Regions from separate parts of the Homo sapiens genome. Here regions 2, 3, 4, 5, 6 and 7 are each linked to region 1. The links are contacts of gene promoters, found by promoter capture Hi-C in blood cells and fetal thymus (Javierre and others, 2016). All regions are on one chromosome and are shown on one strand. Each heading gives the region's core, a stretch centred on a gene start or on the middle of the fragment in contact. The rest is flanking DNA. Distances are from core to core; before and after follow the strand shown. Region 1 holds the start of PDE2A (phosphodiesterase 2A). Region 2 overlaps ARHGEF17 (Rho guanine nucleotide exchange factor 17). Region 3 holds the start of ARHGEF17 (Rho guanine nucleotide exchange factor 17). Region 4 overlaps P2RY6 (pyrimidinergic receptor P2Y6). Region 5 has its middle 5.1 kb from the start of P2RY6. Region 6 overlaps P2RY2 (purinergic receptor P2Y2). Region 7 overlaps P2RY2 (purinergic receptor P2Y2).

Region 1 (2,610 bases), core at 64-2,563:
CACACTAACAAATACACACACATAAATGCACATGGAACAGATAAAAAATGCACACTGATTCACTCTATTTTGCAGACACAACACACATAATATACAAACTCAACCTAATAGACACACCTACATACATATGCAGACCAACCTGCACTCACACTCAGACACATGCGAATAAACTCTCACTCACACAGGGATGATCACAAACTCTGACAGGCTGCTTTACATCCAACCACCAAGGACCCTAGAGCTCTACAGGCCCCTCTACACCCAACATGTCCCTTACATTCCACATGTATACACACACACACACACACACATACCCTGCCTACCACCTCGGCAGCCCTTAGTAGAGGGGTGTCGCCACGGCGCCCCCCACTCACTTGCACATGCACCCCCCTGCACGTGGACACACACGAGGCTGGCACCATATTCCATCTGGCTCCGTAGAACCCTATCCTGGGACAGACGCTTTGGGGTAAAGTTTCATAAAGTGGTGTCCCTGAACCCCAATTCCCAATTCCATGGAAGGTGGTTACCTCTAACCCTCTCTTGCTCCAGGGCCACTCTTATTCATATTTTCTCCATCTTTCCCCCTCCCCACCTCCTTCACACACACATAGCCTTGGTGGGCCAAGACACTCTCCCTCTCCGGGTCCTGAACCAGCCTATTGCAGCCCCGAGAGCTCCTCCCAACTACTTGGCAGACCTCCCCCTCCCCACATACACCCTCAGCCCTTGAAGAACCGGTTCAGGTTCATTATCAGCCCCTCCTCCAACCAGCAGCCCCTTCCATGGGACCCCAGCCTCATCACCTACTAGGTTGACGTTAGACACCCTCATTCTGCTCAGAGGTAACCTGCCCCCACCCCAGGCTGCAGTCTGGCAACGCGGGGAGGAGGGGTGCCCAGGAACAGGATCGATCCTTCCACGTGGCTCAGCTCCATGCCAACCCCAGCTCCTTGGAGGGACTCCCAGGACCCTGTCTGTGGCACCTCTCACAGCCGCTCACCACCCCAGCCCCTCACTATACTCACGGCTCAGCCGGTCGCGCTGCCGGGTACTGCTGGCTCCTGCAGAGGATGGAGTGGCCGCATGCCTGCCCCATCACTCCTCATCGTCCGCCTCCCCAGCCAGACTAAGGTGGCACCTCGCCCTGTCCCCGCTGCCTGGAGTTCAGGGCAGGGCACCCCCAGCAGGCACAGGGACCAAGAGCAGTGGGCTGCCCCCTACTCAGCCTGGACTCAACACCCCAATCCAGCTCTGCTGCCCCGCTGCTCCCGCCTCTCCCGCTGCCACTGCCTCTGCTGCTCGGCTGGCTCTGGGAGGAGGTTGGAGCAGGTCTGATAATGCAGAAGGGGGAGGGAGGAGGGAGGAGGAACAGAGAGAGGCCCAGACAGAGAGGGAGAGAGGGAGAGAGGGAGGGGTAGAGAGAGAGTCTGACTGGGAGAGAGGAAAAAAGACTCACAGACAGAGAGACTGAGAGATAAACAGAGACAGGAAGGGGGACAGTAACACATGAAGAGGGAGAGGAGAGAGGGATCAGAGCCTTAGCGAGATCAAGATGGAAGTACAAAGAGACCAGAGAGGCATAGAGAAACACACACACAGAGGAACAAAGGCAGAAAAGGAAAAAAAATCAGAGGCAGAAATAGAAAGAGAGTGGGGTAGGGGGAAAGGGGAGTGGCTGACAGAGGAGAGAGGGGAGAGGACGAGGGATTTACAATCCTCATGGGCTAGGATGGGGCTGGGGACTTGAGGGGCAGCAGACCCAGACCCTCTGCTGCCCCATCGCAGAAGCCTTCAGGATGAGGGGACACGCTTGTGCCCTCAAGTCTGAGAGATCAGGCCTCCATGCACAGCTAGCTGCCCTCTCCTCTGGGCTCCCTCACCCGGTGTGTATCATCTCCTAGCGTGCATCCCAGCCTGGAGCTGGGTCCACGGAAGACTTAGGGGGCTTTACTGATGGCCTTTGGACTCAGAGCCTTGTCACAGGGCCCACCTCTTGGTGGCTTGGTTTAGCTGGGACTTGGAGCTGATGCGTGAGCATGGACTTCTACCAGGATCTGTGGAGACCTAGGCCACAGCCTGCCCCACATGGCCTTCGCTGCTCACAGACTACAGGCATGGGGGAAGGCCTGTTGCACCCCCACCCTGCTTCCAAAGAGGACTCCCTAGGATAAAGCTATAACCTAGTGAAATAGAGGCATTTTAGGCCCTAGGACAGATAGAGAGTTGTCACAGCAGAGCTACTATTGTATGCAGGAGAAACAGCTCCACACCTTGAGGCAGGAAATGGGGATTTGGATCCTGGCTTCACCATTAACTTACTTATTCATTGGCCTACCAGTGGCTGAGCTCATGGCTCACACTATCCCTTGTCTCAGAGAAGCACTCGGGCTGGGGAGTGGGGAGGGGAGACTTGCAGGCTGTGACAGAAAGAAGCACAGGGTCTGTGAAGCCCAGAGGGACCCCTGACCTAGTTTGGGTGGTGGGGGGGCGGTTAGCAAGCATTTCTGGAAGAGAGGGTCCAAGCTGGGTCTTTTAAGGCAGAAGAGGGTATATTCCAGGGTAGAGGAGCTACAGCAAACCCTCCACAGCAACCCCATCTCTCTGAGC
Region 2 (2,610 bases), core at 77-2,576, 650 kb after region 1:
CTTGATTCTGGTCGGGTGGATCCACCCATGCCAAGCCCTCCTGTTCCTGGCACGAGGTGGAGCCTGGGTACACGTTTATTAAATAAATAATGTGGGGGAGGCAGGAGGAGGACAGCTGAGCCCTGCCCTGGGGGAGCGCCCAGGCTCCTCTCAGCTCCCCTTACCACCCATGCCTATGCCTAGCCCTATGTTGCTGCTGTCCTGGGGACCAGGCAGGTGGAAGCTGGCAGATGGGCAAAGGGTGCCGTCCCGAGTCGGCACTGATTGGGGGTGGGATGGGAAGCAGACACAGGCCCAGAGAAGGTGAGGGTGCTTAGCTCAGGTCACAGAGCCCAGAAAGAGAGAGGTGGTATTCAAACCAGGATAGTCTCACTGGGTTGGAGTTCAGACCCAGATGGTCTGGCTCCAGAACCCGTGCTTAGGCCCCTGGCTTTCAGGACTGCCTGAGTTGGGGGCAGTGCCATCATCAAGGTGGGCACAGAAAGAAAGGGTGGATTTTGCTTTGGACATAGTGATCCTACTGGATTCACAGTCCATGGTCTGAGTCCCAGGAACCAGCACATAGTAGTTGCTCAGTAAATATTAGTTGAATGGCTCAGTTGCACTTGAGAGGCCCTTGGGGAGTGGGAGGAGGTGACAGGCACAGAAGGAATGAGTGTTTCCTCCCTTTATGGGCCCAGGGACCCTTCTCTTGGTGCTGGAAAGCAGCTGAGGTGGGTGCTGGGCTTTCTGCTGGCGGAGAGAACTCAGCCCAGGAGTTTGGGAAGGTGGAGAGATGGGCCACGGGCAGGTGAAGGGGAGACAGGCAGGCCAGGCAGTGCAGTGCAGTCCCGTTTGCAGTATCTGGAAAGCAGATCTCTTGGGCCATGGCCGGCGTGACTCAAATGGAGACAAAAAAACCTTCCATATTTGGACAAAGAGCCCAGAGAGGCCCAGACCCGCAGCCAGCCCAAACCTCCCCCACCCCCAGCCTCCTGCCCTGTCTCCCTCTGGGCCCCTAGCCCTGAGTCCTGTCCCATGAGTTGAACTCTTGGGCCTCAGTCATCAGGTCGCTTCCTGTGTGGCCAGGCCTGGGCTGTGGGTGCTGGGGAAGAAATTTCGTTCCAGGGCTGGGCCCTGTGCTTGGGCTGGAGATGTAGAGAGGAGCCCTGCTGGAGCCTGCGGGCTGGAGGGGAGCACACTGAAACCAACAGTTCCCACACTGTGGGGTAAGCTGACAGCAAACCCCCACCCATCTCAACACAGGCAAAGCTTGAGGAGCATCGCATATAGGCATTGTACACACACACTCTCTCTCTCTCTCTCACTTTCTCACTTTTCAATCCCCAGCAGATTTCCATACCCACAAAGACATCTGTACAGATATCAGGAGTGAGGACCGAGCCTGAGACCTTCCCTGGAGCAAGCTTTGATGACAGCAAAGTTGGAGTAGATTGGGGCAGCCAGATGTCAACAAGTAACATAAACAGGCATTATCCATCTGGAGAGATGTGAACAGAGCAATTTGCTCCTGTACCACCCTCTGAGTGTCCAGCAAGGGGCGGGGCTGGGCAGTGGATGCCAGAGCCTGGTGAGTGGGGAGAGGGCCTAGGCCGCTTCCTGCCTGGGAGCAGACCTTGCTCCCATGGGACAGCCCAGCCATTTGACTGAGAACCGGGGTGTTCACTGTCATTGGTGGATTGACTGAGCCCTGACTGCACAGATGCTTCTACCTTTTCTAACTAGTCTTGGATAATTAACGCTGAAATAAGCTCTGAGTGGCGGGTTGGGGGAACCCAGGGGAACCTTTAAAATTCAATTGCACTGTGGCCCACTGGTGCCTGTATGTGCAGGGTTAGCATGGGGGCCGCAGGGTGAAGGAGAAGGGGTTCCTGACCCAAGAAGCCCCATCTGAGAACTGGGGGTCGAAGGAGGCCAAGAAGGGTGAGGGCAGGGAAGGCTAACTTAGGGCAGTGGCTGGAATCTTGAAGGACTAGCCAGACCTTGACAGGCAGAAATGAGCCAAGGCCCTTCAGGGAGAGAGAACTGCAAAGGTAGAGGCCTGTGATGGAGAAGCCCTGGTGTGTCTGGGGTACCATGAAAGCTCCCTGGTTCTGGAGAGGTCAGGTGGGCCCCGGGAGTTCCTAAAGGCCAGGCCTAAAAGCCTGGACTTGATCCCAGAGTGGTAATTTCCAAGCTCACGGCTGTAATCCCAGCACTTTGGGAGGCCGAGGTTGGGAGGCCGAGGAGGGCGGATCACCTGAGGTCAGGAGTTCAAGACCAGCCTGGTCAACATGGTAAAACCACATCTCTACTAGAAATACAAAAATTAGCTGGGCCTGGTGGCATACGCCTGTAATTCCAGCTACTCGGGAGGCTGAGGCAGGAGAATCGCTTGAACCCAGGAGGTAGAGGTTGCAGTGCACCGAGATTGCACATTGCACTCCAACCTGGGCAACCAAGAGTGAAACTCCGTCTCAAAAAATTAAAAAATAAATAAATGAATAAAAATAAAAATAGTGGAACCTTTTCTTCTAGAGGAATCTTGACACAGAAGTATAAAGCAGGCTGATCTCATTGATTTAAGTGAAAGTAGGGTCATGTCTGCCCCCTGGACCACATCTCACGCCA
Region 3 (2,610 bases), core at 66-2,565, 630 kb after region 1:
TTTTAAAAAATAAGTTAAATAATATTGCCCATACATTATAGGTACTCCATACATTTTCATTCGTTCGTTCATTCGTTAGTTGGGCCGGGAGGATGAATGGGATCTAGAGGCAGGTGGGAATGCGGAAGGGGATGATGCCCCAATACCGAGAACAATGTGAGACTCAGACGGAGGCAGGGGCGGGAGGGGAGCTCAAGCGAGGGATCAGCGTGAAGCCAGAGAAACAACCGACACTTTTCCTGCCAAGAAGGTGAAGCAGCTGCGGGTAAGAGTATAGGTTTGGCAGTGGGAAGTCGAGGGCGTTCCCGTCGAAGCTCCTTTTGTGTATAAGGCCTAAGAAGGGGCAGTGCGCTTTGCGAAGGTCTGAAAAAGACTAAGGGGATTAGGTAACGACTGAAAGGAAGTTTTCACAACTCTCCGTTTTTGGGGGATGGGTGCTGCTTTATCCGTCCAGGACTCCGTGCGTTGGGAAAATCACGCCGCGAGGGGGCGCAAGAGCCGCGTACTCCAGAGCAAGAAGAAAAGGCTCGGGGATCCAGGCGGAGAGTCCAGGAGAAGAGCCGCCAGACTGCAGGGGCAGGTGGAAGGCGTGGCAGCTGGAAAAGTAGGGGTGGGGGCGCGGTCGTGAAGGGTGGGACTTCTGGAGCAACGCTGGGCGGGTTGGGGGCCGGTCGGAGCCGGACAGGCGGCTGGGAGGTGGGATGGGCGGGGCGCTTGGGAGCGAGATGGGGGGACAAGGGCGTGGCTACAGCTAAATTCGCCGCAGAGGGCGGGCGGGGAGGGGGAGGGAAGGGGAGGAGGCGTGGCCTGGGCGGGGAGTAGGGCGCGACGGACCCTTCAGTTAGCCCGCGGCTCCCCGGGCTCTCCCTGGCGCCGAGTCCCACCCCTTTCCCGGCCCAGAGAGTGTGCGTCTGCGTGCACCTGAGTGTCAGTGTGTACGAGAGTTTGTGAGTCCGAGGTTGCCATGTTGGAGCCCCTGGGCAGGAGGTGTTTCCGCGCGGAGGCTGGTGGCCCGCGGTGGACGCGGCGCCCTGGCTGCGAGTCTGCGGAGCTGAGCACGCTCAGCGGTTGTGTGTGTCTCAGCGACTCCCTGGGGGCAGCTCGGCCTGCTGGGCTCCCGAGGGACCTCTCTGGAGGGCCAGAGGGTCGCCTCAGTCTGCAAGTCCTCCAGCAGGCTTTTTCTTCTTCGGCTCCTCCCTGATTCCCTCCCACCACGCGGTTCCCAGGCTCGCGCACGCCCGGAGCCCACCCCCTCTTTTGGGCGCGAGGCCCCGCCCCCCGCCCCCTTGCCTCTGCCGCAAAGTTTATTTGCAACAAAAGGGTGCCAGGAGCGAGCAGCCAAGGGCGTTGGGCAGGCGGACGCAGAGTCGAGGAACCAAGCGCTGGGATCCCGCCCAGGCGGTGCCGCGGTGCCCCTGGTCGCTCCAGCCGCGGCGGGGGCTGGGCCTGGGGGTCGGCGCTGAGGCGGGAGGGGCCGCCCGGGATGGAGACGTTGCGGCCGGTGGCCACAGAAACTTGAGCCGCGGCAGAGAAACCTCTGCTCCGGTCTCTGCGTCCTCTTCCCACACTCCCGTGCGCTGCTTTCGGCGTGGGCCGCTGCGCTCCTAGGGAGTGGGGGCGCAGGGGGGGTTGGCCGCGGCTGCCCGAGGCCAGCCCCCCCGGAGTGAGTTACGCCACTATGGCGGACGGGGCACCCCGGCCCCAGCTTTACCGCAGCGTCTCGTTCAAGCTGCTGGAGCGCTGGAGCGGCGGCCCCGGGCTGAGGGAGGAGGACACGGACACCCCCGGCTTGAGGCGACGCGCCTCGTGCCGGCCGACCACGGCTGCCCGGGGCCAGCCCTCTCGGCGCGTGTCCAAGCTGGCGTCTGGGCCCCTGGCCGCCCCCGCGCAGCCGCGCCCGCTCCGCAGCCTCTCGCCGTCGGTTCGCCAGCTCTCCCGGCGCTTCGACGCGCCGCGTCTGGACGACGGCTCCGCTGGGACCCGAGACGGAGGCGTCTTACCCGCGGCCGCGGAAGAAGCGGCCGAGGGCCCAGCGCGAGGAGCCTGGCCCAGCGTCACCGAGATGCGCAAGCTCTTCGGCGGTCCTGGCTCCAGGAGGCCCAGCGCCGACTCTGAATCCCCAGGAACGCCCAGCCCCGACGGTGCCGCGTGGGAGCCTCCGGCTCGGGAGTCGCGGCAGCCACCGACGCCACCCCCTCGGACATGCTTCCCCCTGGCGGGTCTGCGTTCGGCGCGGCCCCTGACCGGGCCGGAGACCGAAGGGAGGCTGCGCCGGCCGCAGCAGCAACAGGAGCGGGCGCAGCGTCCAGCGGATGGTTTACATTCTTGGCATATCTTCTCCCAACCGCAGGCCGGGGCCCGGGCCTCCTGCTCCTCCTCCTCCATCGCCGCCTCCTATCCTGTCAGCCGCAGTCGTGCTGCCAGCTCCAGCGAGGAGGAAGAGGAGGGCCCGCCGCAGCTGCCTGGAGCCCAGAGTCCGGCCTACCACGGCGGCCACTCCTCGGGCAGTGACGACGACCGAGACGGTGAGGGCGGCCACCGCTGGGGAGGGAGGCCCGGGCTCAGGCCTGGAAGCTCCCTATTGGATCAGGACTGCAGGCCTGACAGTGA
Region 4 (2,610 bases), core at 50-2,549, 610 kb after region 1:
CTGGAATTTATTTGTTCATTCACTCAACAAATATTTATTGAGAACCTACTATATGCCAGACACCGTCCTAAGTACATGCAGCAGTGAAAAAAAAACACGAAAACCCCTGCCCTGGTGGAGTTTATGTTCAGTCATGAGAGAGAGACAATAACCAATAAATAAGTAGAACAGTGTATTAAAAGATTTTAAATGCTAAGGAGAAAAATATAGCAGAGAAGGGGCGTAGGAATCACACATGCACATGCGTTGCGTAGGGGTTTATAATTTTAGCTTAGAGTGGTAGGAGAAGGTCCCATGGAGAAGGTATCATTCGAGTGACCACCTGAGGGGGTCTGTCCTACGTCCCTTTTTTGAGACAGGGTCTCGCTCTGTAGCCAAGGCTGGAATGCAGTGGTGTGATCATAGCTCACTGCAGCCTTGGCCTCCCAGGCTCAAGCGATTTTCCCACCTCAGCCTCCCAAGTAGCTGGGGTTACAGGCACACGCCAACACATCCAGTTAATTTTTAAACATTTTTTGGTAGAGACAGGCTTTCTCTATGTTGCCCAGCCTGGTCTCGAACTTCTGGGCTCAAGTGATCCTCCCGCCTTGGCCTCCCAAAGTGCTGAGATTCCAGGCGTGAGCCACCACACCCGGCCTGTCCTGTGTTCTTCATGCACACTCCACAGCAGGAGCCACTGTTGCCTGCTGACCTCCTACATTGCACTCTGAATGAGGTAGTTGCCCCTTACTTTGATCTCTTCCTCCCAGGCCACCCCTTGGACACCCACAAAGTCCTCTTCCTCCCACACTGGACTGGCCACAAACAGGCCAGTTTGAGGGTGAAGATTTGGGGTTTGGCGACAGGCAGTCCTGCTGATTGGAAGATCACTGACGGATTGGTGGCCCTGGCAAGTAACTAAGCTGTTGGGGGCCTTAGTTTCCTCCTCCCAAAAGAAGAGACTATGCCCCCCTTACAGGCCCCAGGCAGGCAATGAAACAGGACAGAGGGTAGCAAAGGGTTTTGTCTTCAGGTTTGAAAACAGCCACAGACCACGGCCTCATCCTTGAGGATCCACCACTAGGTCTCCTGGGACCTGGACATGTGCCTGAAATTGCCTGGTGAGAATGAAGACCAATAGATGGATGGTCTTGGGACAACCTCTGCAGGGTGTCCTGGGGCAGCCAAGCTATATGGCCCCAGAGGCAAGCTGGACTGGTGTGGGAGAGCAGTCACTAGGGACAGATCTTGGGGCTTGGTGTGACAAAGCATATCTCCCAGTGAGCTTTCTCAAGGTGGAATGCAGTGGCCTAGGAGAGGAGTGAGCTCCCTGCAATGGGAAGTATGCAGGCAGGGGCCAAACAAGCCCAGTCAGGGAGGCTTCAGAGAGCCCCCTTCTCTGAGGGGATGATGGGGAGACCTCTGGGTCAGGTGACCTTAAGGCCTCCCTAGCCCTGAGGGTCCAGAACTCAGAGGCCTGTCATTGACCCCTGGGTCCAGCTGGACGTCTTATCACTGCCAGGTGGGCTCAGGCCCCAGGAAGAGCTAGGGATGATCAGAACAGGAATCAAGGCAGGGGCTGCCTTTCACGGGAGGGGAGGAGTTCCCTGAGGCTCCCCTTCCACACCCAAACCTTACCTGTACGAGTTGTGGACAAAACTGCCTACCTTCGGGCCTCAGGGTCTGCCTGGGAAATGGGCAGGATCATAACCCACAATAACCACTTGGCGGGGTTAGTGGTCTGCCTTTCCTGAGGTGGGGACTGGGGGACCCAAGCAGTCTCAGAGGTGCTACTCCTGAACCCATTACCTTCATTCTCCTTGACAAATCTTCTCTGTCATCAGTCAAGACAAAGATTTAAAAAAAAAAAAAAAATGGAACCAGGCAGCACCGAGGACAGAGCCCCGGCGCTCATCTTTATAGACTGGATCCAGTCATCCAACATTTCCCAGTGCCTCTTGGGCCAAAGCCTATACTGGTCTCTGAGGCTCCAGAGGCAAAGCAGACCTTGTCCCCTGTTCCTAGCAGAGTTAGAGAAGGAAAGGGAGGGAGTCTGACACCGCCCCTTCGACTGGTCTTCTTCTCTGCCCTGACTCTTGACCTCCATTTCTTTGTCCTTTCTTAAGCCACTCTTCCTGAGAGACAGGGTATCATGGTGGATTTATAGTGCACTTTGGGCAAGTTCCTAACCTCTCTGGCCTCAGTTTTCTCGTAGGGAAATGTCACCTGTCTTCCTGGGCACAAGGTGCAGATCTACAGGCAGGACTCCTAGTTTCAAGTGACAGAATCCTAGGTTAAATGGATTGAGGCAAAAAGGGAGTTTATCAGCTCATGACACCAAAGGTAAAACCTCAGGCACAGCTGAAACCAGGCACTCAATGCTGTTCTCAGGAAACGATGCATCCCCATCTCTCATCTCTGCCATTCCTTGGCTTTCTATGTGGATAGTCTCCTCCCTGGTGGCAGTATCTCCGTCGCCCAGGACAATGCCTGGAACTTAGTTCACTTGGCTCCAGCAGCTCCTGCCTCACTTTCTACTAACTTTGCAAATATTGTGGAAGACCTGTCTCCTTCCTGATGCCCCAGTAAAAGCGCCAGAATTGACTCTGAGGCATGCAGTGAAGGTCACTC
Region 5 (2,610 bases), core at 47-2,546, 590 kb after region 1:
TAGGTTATTTTTAGGACTGACTGAGTGCCTGGATATTAAGTGGCTGGCACAATCTCTGATACATAGAAATCCTAACAGCTGGTGACAAAACTATGATGATAGTAATGGTGACCCCCACACAACTGGGTCCCTGCCCACCCCAGGAACTCTCAGTTTTCACAGAGCCAGTGATTCCAATAAGCTGTGTGGGTAGGAATCAGAGAGTCCCTATTTGAGTATCTCTGAGGGATCCTTTCCCATTCCCAGACTGAATCCTTGTTGAATTCTCAGTGACCACCTGCTTCCTGGGAAGATGCAGTCTGGGAGAGGACAATGCAGGTCTCTGTCAAAGCCTGGGATGGAGCGTGGGAGAGAGGTTGGGGGAGAAATGCAGGGGCAGCCATGGGCTTGGATGGAGGCTTCTCAGTCCTGACAAACCCTGGAGGAACCGAAAAATGCTGGCCCTGTGTATGTGTGTGTTTGGGAACTGGCAGGGGCAGGAGCCTGGGTTGCCCTCTGCCTGGAATGAGGAAAGTCCAGTACAGGATCAGGAATATTAGTCCCTGGACCAAGACAGGCCCTGAGAGCTGAAAGGGAGGCTGTGAGGTCAGCATTGAGCTGCAAGCAGAAGTGGACCAGGAGGCTCCCCGCAGGCTGAGCCTTGTTTCTGGGGCTAAAACTTCTGCATTGGCAGAGCAAGTGCCCCTGTTCCTGTTGACTTCATTGAGTCAGTTTAGAGGAGTTGCCCGGAGGCCTTGGAGGACAAGGGGACATAAAAGGCAGTGTTGGGAGCTGTGGAAACATCTGGGGAGGGAACCTAAATATATCTCATGGTGACGGGGTGCCATGATGGGCCAGTGCAACCTCGGGCACCACAGAGGCAAGCCACTGTCCCCACTGTCCCTAACAGGGAGTACTGCTGCCCCAGAGGCCCTGAGAGCTTCTCTGGAAGGTCTGGACAGAGCCCTCCTGGGGAGAAGGAGGCCTGGCCCAGCCCTGACTTTCTGAGTGATAAGGCCAGCTGTCTTCTTAGCTGTCAGGGAGGTGGGACCAAGTGATGCTGTCGTCACTTCTGGCCCTGATTTCCTTTAATCCCCAATTCTGGCTATAATTGTTTATAATTCCACACCCCTAGCCCTAAGAGTCTATAATTACTCAAACATTCTAGAAGTCTACAATTCGAACTCCAACTTTCTACACTCCAAAGCTGTAACATTCCCCAATTCTGGCTCCAATGTTGGAGGATTCTGGCCCTGGCTTTGGCAGTCTGACTCTTGTAAACTTATAAACTCCCAAGGAAGAGGTTACTTCAGCAGAATCATGTGAGAAGCCCCAGAAAAGGTCTCCTCCCTGCCTAAGCCAGCCTGGAGTAGAGGCAGGTGCCTGGTAAAATGGCCATATGCTCTCTGGGGTGGATGACAGTGAACCCAGAGGCCCCTCCTCATCAGAGCAGCAGAGTTGCTGGGAGTACCTCACAGCTCTCAGGGGACGGTGGCCCTAGAGCAGAGAAAGGTTCAGATCTTGGATTGTAGGCACCCCTCAGGATGAGGGAATTGTGGAGTCACTGGGCACCTTGCAAGGCCATCAAAAGGAAGGAGAGAGAGAACAAGAAATGGGGCTGAAGAGACCTCAAAGGCAAACCTCATTCTCTCTGAGAGACCTCAGGTTGTAGAAAAGACTCCTGTGGAGCCAGCAGGAGCAGCATCGTTGATGCACAGCCATGTCTGAACTCAGCATAGGCTGGGGGGTGGAGAGCTCCAAAATTCACAGTGATTAGCTTAAAACCTTGCCTTGAGCTGGCGACAAGCAGGACTGGTAGCTGACTGAGCAAGCTGGGGACAATCCTCCCATAGAAACCTTTGCCTACTTTCTGTGAGTATTCTGACCAGGACTTATGTGGGATGGCTGAAGAGGGTGAGCCAGACAAACCATCTGTGTTCTTGGGGAAACCTGTTAGCTTCTCTGGGAGGGGCAAAGGAAGGGCTTGGGCATCCAAGGACTCAGCTCTTCCTCTCCCATCTCTTTCCTGGTTATGAAAGCTCTTCACATGCAACTTGCTGCTGAGCTAAGCTAGAACACTATGTAAGCTGGCTGGAAGTGGGTCCATGCATGTGATGGTGCCTGCGTGCCTGCCGTGGGTGGTGTGTTCCCAAGTGTGGCAGGTGCCAGGGCACGTGTGCATATGTATGTGTGAACCTGTGTGAGTTATGTGGAGCTGTTTCCGGGGCTGGGTGTGCTGTGCATGCACCAGTGCAGAATTGCACCCACAGGCATGTGCTCCTTACAACTCTGTTAGGTCTCTGTGGCCTCTCTGTGGTTTCCTATGATGGAAGGCAAACAGCAGACCCCAGACTCTGGACAGTATGAGGGGCTCAGGCTGCAGAGAGGGAAAACCTCTGTGGCTCAGCAAGAAGGCCTAGCCCTGGCCAGACATGGTGGCTCACGTTTGTGATCCCAAAACTTTGGGAGGCTGAGGGAGGAGGATCGATTGAGACCAGGAGTTCGATACCAGCCTGTGCAAACTAGAAAGGCCCTGTCTCTACAAAAAAAAATACAAATTTAGCCAGGCGTAGTAGCTTATGCCTGTAGTGCCAACTACTTGGGAGGCTGAGGAGGATCATTTGAGCCCAG
Region 6 (2,610 bases), core at 55-2,554, 560 kb after region 1:
ACTCCCTCCTCTCCCTCTGGGAGAGCCCTCGCCCTGTGGCCCACTCTGCCTGCCCCCTCTGACCTCTCCACCCTTCCCACTCTGCCTTGTGAAAGGCAGGACATCCCCAAAGCTTGCTGTATTTGGAGCCTGACTCCACAGCGCCCTCATGTGACAGAGACCCATCACAGACCATGACCCAAATGATTACTCTGTACTGTGCCAGGTGGGTGACCTGCCCAGAATAGTGTGAGCTATTCACCTCTCACCTTCTAGGTTCTATACTTCTGTTAATGTAGCCGATGTCCTTCTGAGTTTTTTTTTTCTTTTTGAGACGAAGTCTTGTTCTGTCACCCAGGCTGGAAGTGCAGTGCTGCGGTCTTGGCTCACTGCAACTCTCTGCCTCCCGGGTTCAAGCAATTCTCCTGCCTCAGTTTCCCAAGTAGCTGGGATTACAGGTATGCGCCACCACACCTGGCTAATTTTTGTATTTTTAATAGAGACAGGGTTTCGCCATGTTGGCCAGGCTGGTCTCAAACTCCTGACCTCAAGTGATCCACCTGCCTCAGCCTCCCAAAGTGCTGGGATTACAGGTATGAGCCACCGCACCCGGCCCCTCTTGAGCTTTCTTAATGATTGCCTGTTACAAACCACCCTTGAGCCTTTCCCACAGGCCCGAGCCACTCCACAAGGACACAGGAGGGGCTCGTTCACCATCTAATCCTGTGGCAGGCACAGGTGGGGGTGGATACTGGAGACCCTGGGTGAACCAGGGGCACCTCTGGAACCCAGTTGGACTGCCTGGCCCCTTGGTATGCACGTCCCACCTTGCTGCTCAGTGCCCAGGCCACTTGCCTTGTGGGTGAAGTTCCTGCCCTGATGCCTCATGCTATTTTCAGCCCAAGTAAGACCATAATTTTCCACTCCTGGCCCCAGACCATTGTCCAGCAGTGACGTGAGGGGATCTGCCTGCCCTCAAAATATCTCCTATTACCCTCCAATATTCCCTGCCCCCTTCACACCTCCCTAACCTGACATCACTTCCTGGGCTGTTGACTCATGAAGGCCACTGTGAAAGGGCACGTGAGTTGCCCATCCACTGAGCAGACCCCAGGGATTATCCAGCCCAGCTGCAGACTCAAGGCCAGAGATGGGCAGGGCTGAGCCCAAGGTCATTCAGCAGGTCAGCGTGGCGCCTGGATGTAAGCAAGTGCCTTGGTGACGATCCTGCTGTCACTCACACTGCCCAGCTCTTCCTGCCCAGGGTGACTGGGATGGAGCCATAGACCTGAGGCCAGGGACAGGACAGGGATGGGAGGAAAGGGAGGGTAGAGAGTTGAGTGTCAGGGAGTAAATGTCTGCTGATGTGCCTGCAGCAGCTGTTCTCAATGAACTGCATGACATCAGGGCAGGGTCCCTGGCACACAGGGGTCTCTGCCCTGGGTGGCAGGTGTCCCAGGGTCCAGGAGGGATGGAGGAACCCCAGGGTACATTCCCACTTTCACCCCCTGAGGTTAGAAGAGGCCCTAAGCAACATGTTATCCACACATGGTTGCTCCAGGTCAAGTCACCAAAGCTACCTCTCTGTCACCCTTGTCATGGCAGATTTGGGCTGCTCTGTTTAGAATCAGGCACATGAGGGAGGGAAGTCGTGTATTGACCCATGTCCCACGCACCCTCTCATCTATGTTATATGGTGGATGCTTCACAGAAGCCCTGGGAAGTAGATGCTATGATCCTATTTAGCAGATGAGGAAACAGGAGAAGGGCGTGAGAAGTGAGGACTTGTTCCAGGTTATCCAGGCTGTCAGGGTGAGTCAGAGTGAGTCCAGGTTCACCTGATGGCCAGAATCATGCCCTTTATAGTGCCCCACGACACTCACAGCCCTGCAGGGCAGAAGGGTCTATAAGTGGCCCCTCGCATGATTCAAGATGACAGAGGCAGTGTAGCAAGGATGTGAGAACACAGATGCTCCACCCAGACCACCTCAGTGTCAATATTGTCCCCACTTTCCTGGCTGGGGTCTCTTGGGCAAGTTACCTAATCTTGCAGCACCTCAGTTTTCCCATTTCTAAAGTGTGCTGCTACCTTCCATGCAGGGCGTTGAGGGGCTTCCCTACGTTATTACGCACAAAGTCCTCCTCACAGTGCCTGGTGTGTGGTCAGCATTTATATGCCTGGCACCAGGCCGGGGGCTATGGAGGCAAATCAGCTGGGCCCTGCCCTCACAGAGTTGACATCACTTAGTACGTAACCACATTGGGATACATGTTTTGAAGGAGAGGACAGTGTGTCTGGCCAGTGAGCAACAGTGGGCCATACGTCTCCAGGGAACCCCCGTGGGGTGTGGGAGGAGGGAAGCAGGTCTGTCCTGGGGGAATGTGTGGGACCACCTCTGCCCTGCTTGGCAGTAGGTGGATTTCAGGACCATGGGCCTGTGCTGTTTACAGAACCTTGTCCAGGTGCCCAGCTGTGGGAGGGCAGCATGGAGAGGAGGAAGAGGGGGCCCCTAGTAGCAAGCTTCAGAAACTTGCCACTTCAGGCTAGAGAGCTCGCACCCTCCCACGGCAGCAGGGTAGCCATTTCTCCCTGACTGGGGTGTCCACCATGGTGCTCTGCAGCCACCTCTC
Region 7 (2,610 bases), core at 35-2,534, 550 kb after region 1:
CTGGCTGCAGGATGGAGAATGGATCAAGTATTGCCAAGTGCAGGGAGGTCAGGGCATTTGTGATGTCAACACTAGAACTGTCCCAGGAGTTGTTTGAACCCTAATTGAGCCCTTGCCCCTTGGCCAAACACTTTTCCCTGAGCCTTCAGATGCTCCTGCTGAGGAATTTGGGGACCTGCAATTGATCTCATCCCAGCTCTGTTCCCAGCTGGTTGAATGACCAGTTCCTGCCCTGCCAGGCTCTAAAAGGAGGCCAGAACAAGTAAGATCCTGCATGGGAGAGTATGTGTGTGGGGAGGCTCTGGCACAAAAGGCTTGTCGCTCTTTCTCCTCTTCTCCCTGCCTTGGGCTGTCTTGGAGTCTGGTCAGAGGGGTTGGGGATCCCAGTGGGCAACCCTCAGAAATGACTACCAAGCTTGGGCTGTGGAGTGAGGCTGTGACTCCTCTGTTTCTGTCTCCCTCCTGCCCTGGATGCATGGGGCTCTAAGGCTGTGGATCCCCCAAGGACCAGCTAAGAAGGTGTGAGGGTATCACCAGGGCCTCATGAGTGACCCCATGAGAGCTTTGACTTAATGGCTATAGTCTTTAGAGAGGCCATTGTCCCTCTCTAGGTGTCAGTTCTGCCATTTGTAAATTGAGAATGGTGATCCTTGCTTCTTTGAGAGCAGAGTTGCTACGAGGATTAAGATAGTGACCAGGGAAGAGCTTTATAAGCCTTAAACTGCAGTGCTCAGAGGAGGAATGTGACACTTGTAGACTTAAATCCATTTTGAAGACTATAAGAGAACATGGGTGCAATAGCAAGGGATTGTGCTTGTTATTGAAATTTGATTACTGAATGCCTTCCTCCCCCACCCCCTCTGCAGAGATGGCTTCACTAGTAACGATTTACAACAATCCATTTTGTCTTCCTATAGCCCTGTGAGGGAGGAATTGTATCTCCATTTTGCAGATCAGGAAATAGAGGCATGGATTGTATCCTGCCCAGGGTCACCAAGCTGAGGTGAAACCTGGGGCTCCAGTCCACCTGCCAGCTTAGCCCTCCCCATCTGAGACAGAGCCCTGTTAGGGTTAGGCCTGGTCCTCTGGCTTCCAGGCTGAGGGGAGTTTGAATTCTGCCCTGGGAACCTGTGTTTGGGGCTTTCTTGTGGCCAGATTACCCAACTGCTGATAAGGTAACGCCTGCCCAGACCTGCCCACGGGACCAGAGATGCCTTGTTGATCTGGTGAGGGGAGTGGGGGTTGCCCCTCATGCCTTCCACCCAAACCGCCTCTCCCCAAACTGCTTTCTGTAGGCCTGCTTGCTATACCCTCTGGGCCACACCTCCTCTTGGTTGTCCTTGGGTCCTGAGGCCTGGCCTTCCCTTATTACTGGGCCCTGATAGGAGGAGGCTGGCTGTGTGGGCCACTCTGACCTCTGTACTCATCCAGCGGCCAGTTGCAGGACTAGGCTAGGCCATACCTGCTTTCTCTCTCTGTCCCCATCAGCCACCACAGGTTGGGCTCAGAGCAGCTGCCAGTGGGTCTTTGGGAAATGAGTGGCCAGGCGGGAGTAGGCATGGAGTAGAAGGGGAGGCTTTGCTCCACGGAGTGCCATAGTTGGTTCTGGAGCAGAGGAGTTCCTCCACCCCATCACCCCATCTCCTAGGCCTGAGTCTTTCCTGGTCCAAGATGAGTAGCGGGAGTTTCTGGTAGGAGGGTGAGCAGCCTGGGCCCCGTGGAACAACTCCTTGACCCTCTGCCCTGGTACCTTGTCACTGTCATTGTAGCTCCTGAATGAGAGGCCTGGGTGCTGGAGTGAGGGAAAGGGACCTCCCTCAGACTTCTGGGGCTTTATGTGGCCTCTCCCTCCCCAGGTCTGAGGAGAGCCTCTGGGTGTCGACCTGGCTTCCTGGTGAGTGCCCAGCCACCCAGCCCTGGCTTGTAGGAGGGGGACTCTTGCCATGGCTGGGCTGTTGCAGGAAATCCAGGGCCAAGGGACCTGCTCCTCTCATGGCACCACCGTATGTGTCGTCTCCTCCTTGGTCTCCCTCCCTCCAGACTCCCTGTCCCATCTACCTTCCATGTGGCACCATCTTTGTAAAGGTTGACTCTGACCATGTCCTTCCCCTCTTAAGCCTTCCATGGCTCCTCAGTGTCCTTAGAATAGAGGCCAAGCTTTTCAGCCTGGCATTTGAGCCTTTTCAAGTGAATTCCTCAGGCTCCCACACATTCCATGCCACCTCACCCTCCACAGTAGCCGTATAAGACCTCCCAGCCTTTTTCCAGCAGGTCACACTTTCATCCACCAAGTCTTTGCTCATGCCTCTCCTGCCTTCAGAGCCCTCCTCCCTCTTTGCCCACCTGACAAACTCCTAATCATCTACCAGTTTCCAGCTCAGATGACCCCTCCTCTGCAGAAGCACTCCCTGACCACCTCCCCCAGGCCAGGTAGGAGTTGCTGTGTGCTCCATAACCCCTGGGCTTGCCTTGGTTATGGTTTATTCACCCAAGTGGATTTGGTCCATGTCTGTGTCTTTTTCCTCAGCCTGACTGGGTACTCCTCAAGGGCCCAGCAGAGTGCAATCTGAGTCTGAGTTCACAAGGTCCATCTGAGGCCAGGTGCACCAG

Evidence for each region. The method cuts DNA at HindIII sites, captures the fragments that hold promoters and counts their contacts. A CHiCAGO score of 5 or more calls a contact.
Region 2: a fragment that was not itself captured here is called in contact with the fragment with the promoter of PDE2A in region 1 in 1 of 17 cell types (monocytes); the score reaches 5.3 in monocytes.
Region 3: the fragment with the promoter of ARHGEF17 here is called in contact with the fragment with the promoter of PDE2A in region 1 in 4 of 17 cell types (neutrophils, total B cells, naive B cells and 1 more); the score reaches 10.6 in neutrophils.
Region 4: a fragment that was not itself captured here is called in contact with the fragment with the promoter of PDE2A in region 1 in 2 of 17 cell types (M0 macrophages and neutrophils); the score reaches 7.0 in M0 macrophages.
Region 5: a fragment that was not itself captured here is called in contact with the fragment with the promoter of PDE2A in region 1 in 1 of 17 cell types (neutrophils); the score reaches 5.6 in neutrophils.
Region 6: a contact is called between a fragment that was not itself captured here and the fragment with the promoter of PDE2A in region 1, in 1 of 17 cell types (neutrophils). The highest score is 5.4, in neutrophils.
Region 7: a fragment that was not itself captured here is called in contact with the fragment with the promoter of PDE2A in region 1 in 1 of 17 cell types (neutrophils); the score reaches 7.1 in neutrophils.

What each region holds. Positions count from the first base shown.
Region 1 is chr11:72,673,109-72,675,718 of GRCh38, forward strand. It overlaps PDE2A (phosphodiesterase 2A), which reads right to left and starts at 1,314. Exons shown (of 31, transcript NM_002599.5): 1 at 1,029-1,314. The coding sequence starts at 1,099. RefSeq lists enhancers at 1-509, 510-1,135, 1,136-1,762, 1,763-2,387, 2,538-2,610. The HindIII fragment of the contact is 6,386 bases long and covers 1-2,610 here.
Region 2 is chr11:73,324,263-73,326,872 of GRCh38, forward strand. The region is part of intron 1 of ARHGEF17 (Rho guanine nucleotide exchange factor 17); the gene reads left to right. Among named protein-coding and RNA genes, the nearest start is that of ARHGEF17-AS1, 16 kb to the left of the region's middle. RefSeq lists an enhancer at 1,065-1,716. The HindIII fragment of the contact is 155 bases long and covers 1,250-1,404 here.
Region 3 is chr11:73,306,961-73,309,570 of GRCh38, forward strand. It overlaps ARHGEF17 (Rho guanine nucleotide exchange factor 17), which reads left to right and starts at 1,316. Exons shown (of 21, transcript NM_014786.4): 1 at 1,316-2,610. The coding sequence starts at 1,679. ARHGEF17-AS1 (ARHGEF17 antisense RNA 1) reads right to left here and starts at 2,401. Exons shown (of 3, transcript NR_147696.1): 1 at 1,712-2,401; 2 at 922-1,604; 3 at 551-596. RefSeq lists silencers at 688-827, 1,228-1,557, 1,788-2,007 and enhancers at 1,428-2,305, 2,311-2,610. The HindIII fragment of the contact is 10,810 bases long and covers 1-2,610 here.
Region 4 is chr11:73,284,737-73,287,346 of GRCh38, forward strand. All of the region lies in intron 1 of P2RY6 (pyrimidinergic receptor P2Y6), which reads left to right. Among named protein-coding and RNA genes, the nearest start is that of P2RY6, 14 kb to the left of the region's middle. The HindIII fragment of the contact is 4,518 bases long and covers 1-2,610 here.
Region 5 is chr11:73,265,939-73,268,548 of GRCh38, forward strand. It overlaps a transcript of P2RY6 not described here. Among named protein-coding and RNA genes, the nearest start is that of P2RY6, 5.1 kb to the right of the region's middle. The HindIII fragment of the contact is 2,895 bases long and covers 1-2,610 here.
Region 6 is chr11:73,236,954-73,239,563 of GRCh38, forward strand. It overlaps P2RY2 (purinergic receptor P2Y2), which reads left to right. Exons shown (of 3, transcript NM_002564.4): 3 at 1-2,610. Among named protein-coding and RNA genes, the nearest start is that of P2RY2, 20 kb to the left of the region's middle. RefSeq lists enhancers at 256-305, 891-1,185. The HindIII fragment of the contact is 2,388 bases long and covers 111-2,498 here.
Region 7 is chr11:73,220,358-73,222,967 of GRCh38, forward strand. The region is part of intron 1 of P2RY2 (purinergic receptor P2Y2); the gene reads left to right. Among named protein-coding and RNA genes, the nearest start is that of P2RY2, 3.4 kb to the left of the region's middle. The HindIII fragment of the contact is 1,742 bases long and covers 414-2,155 here.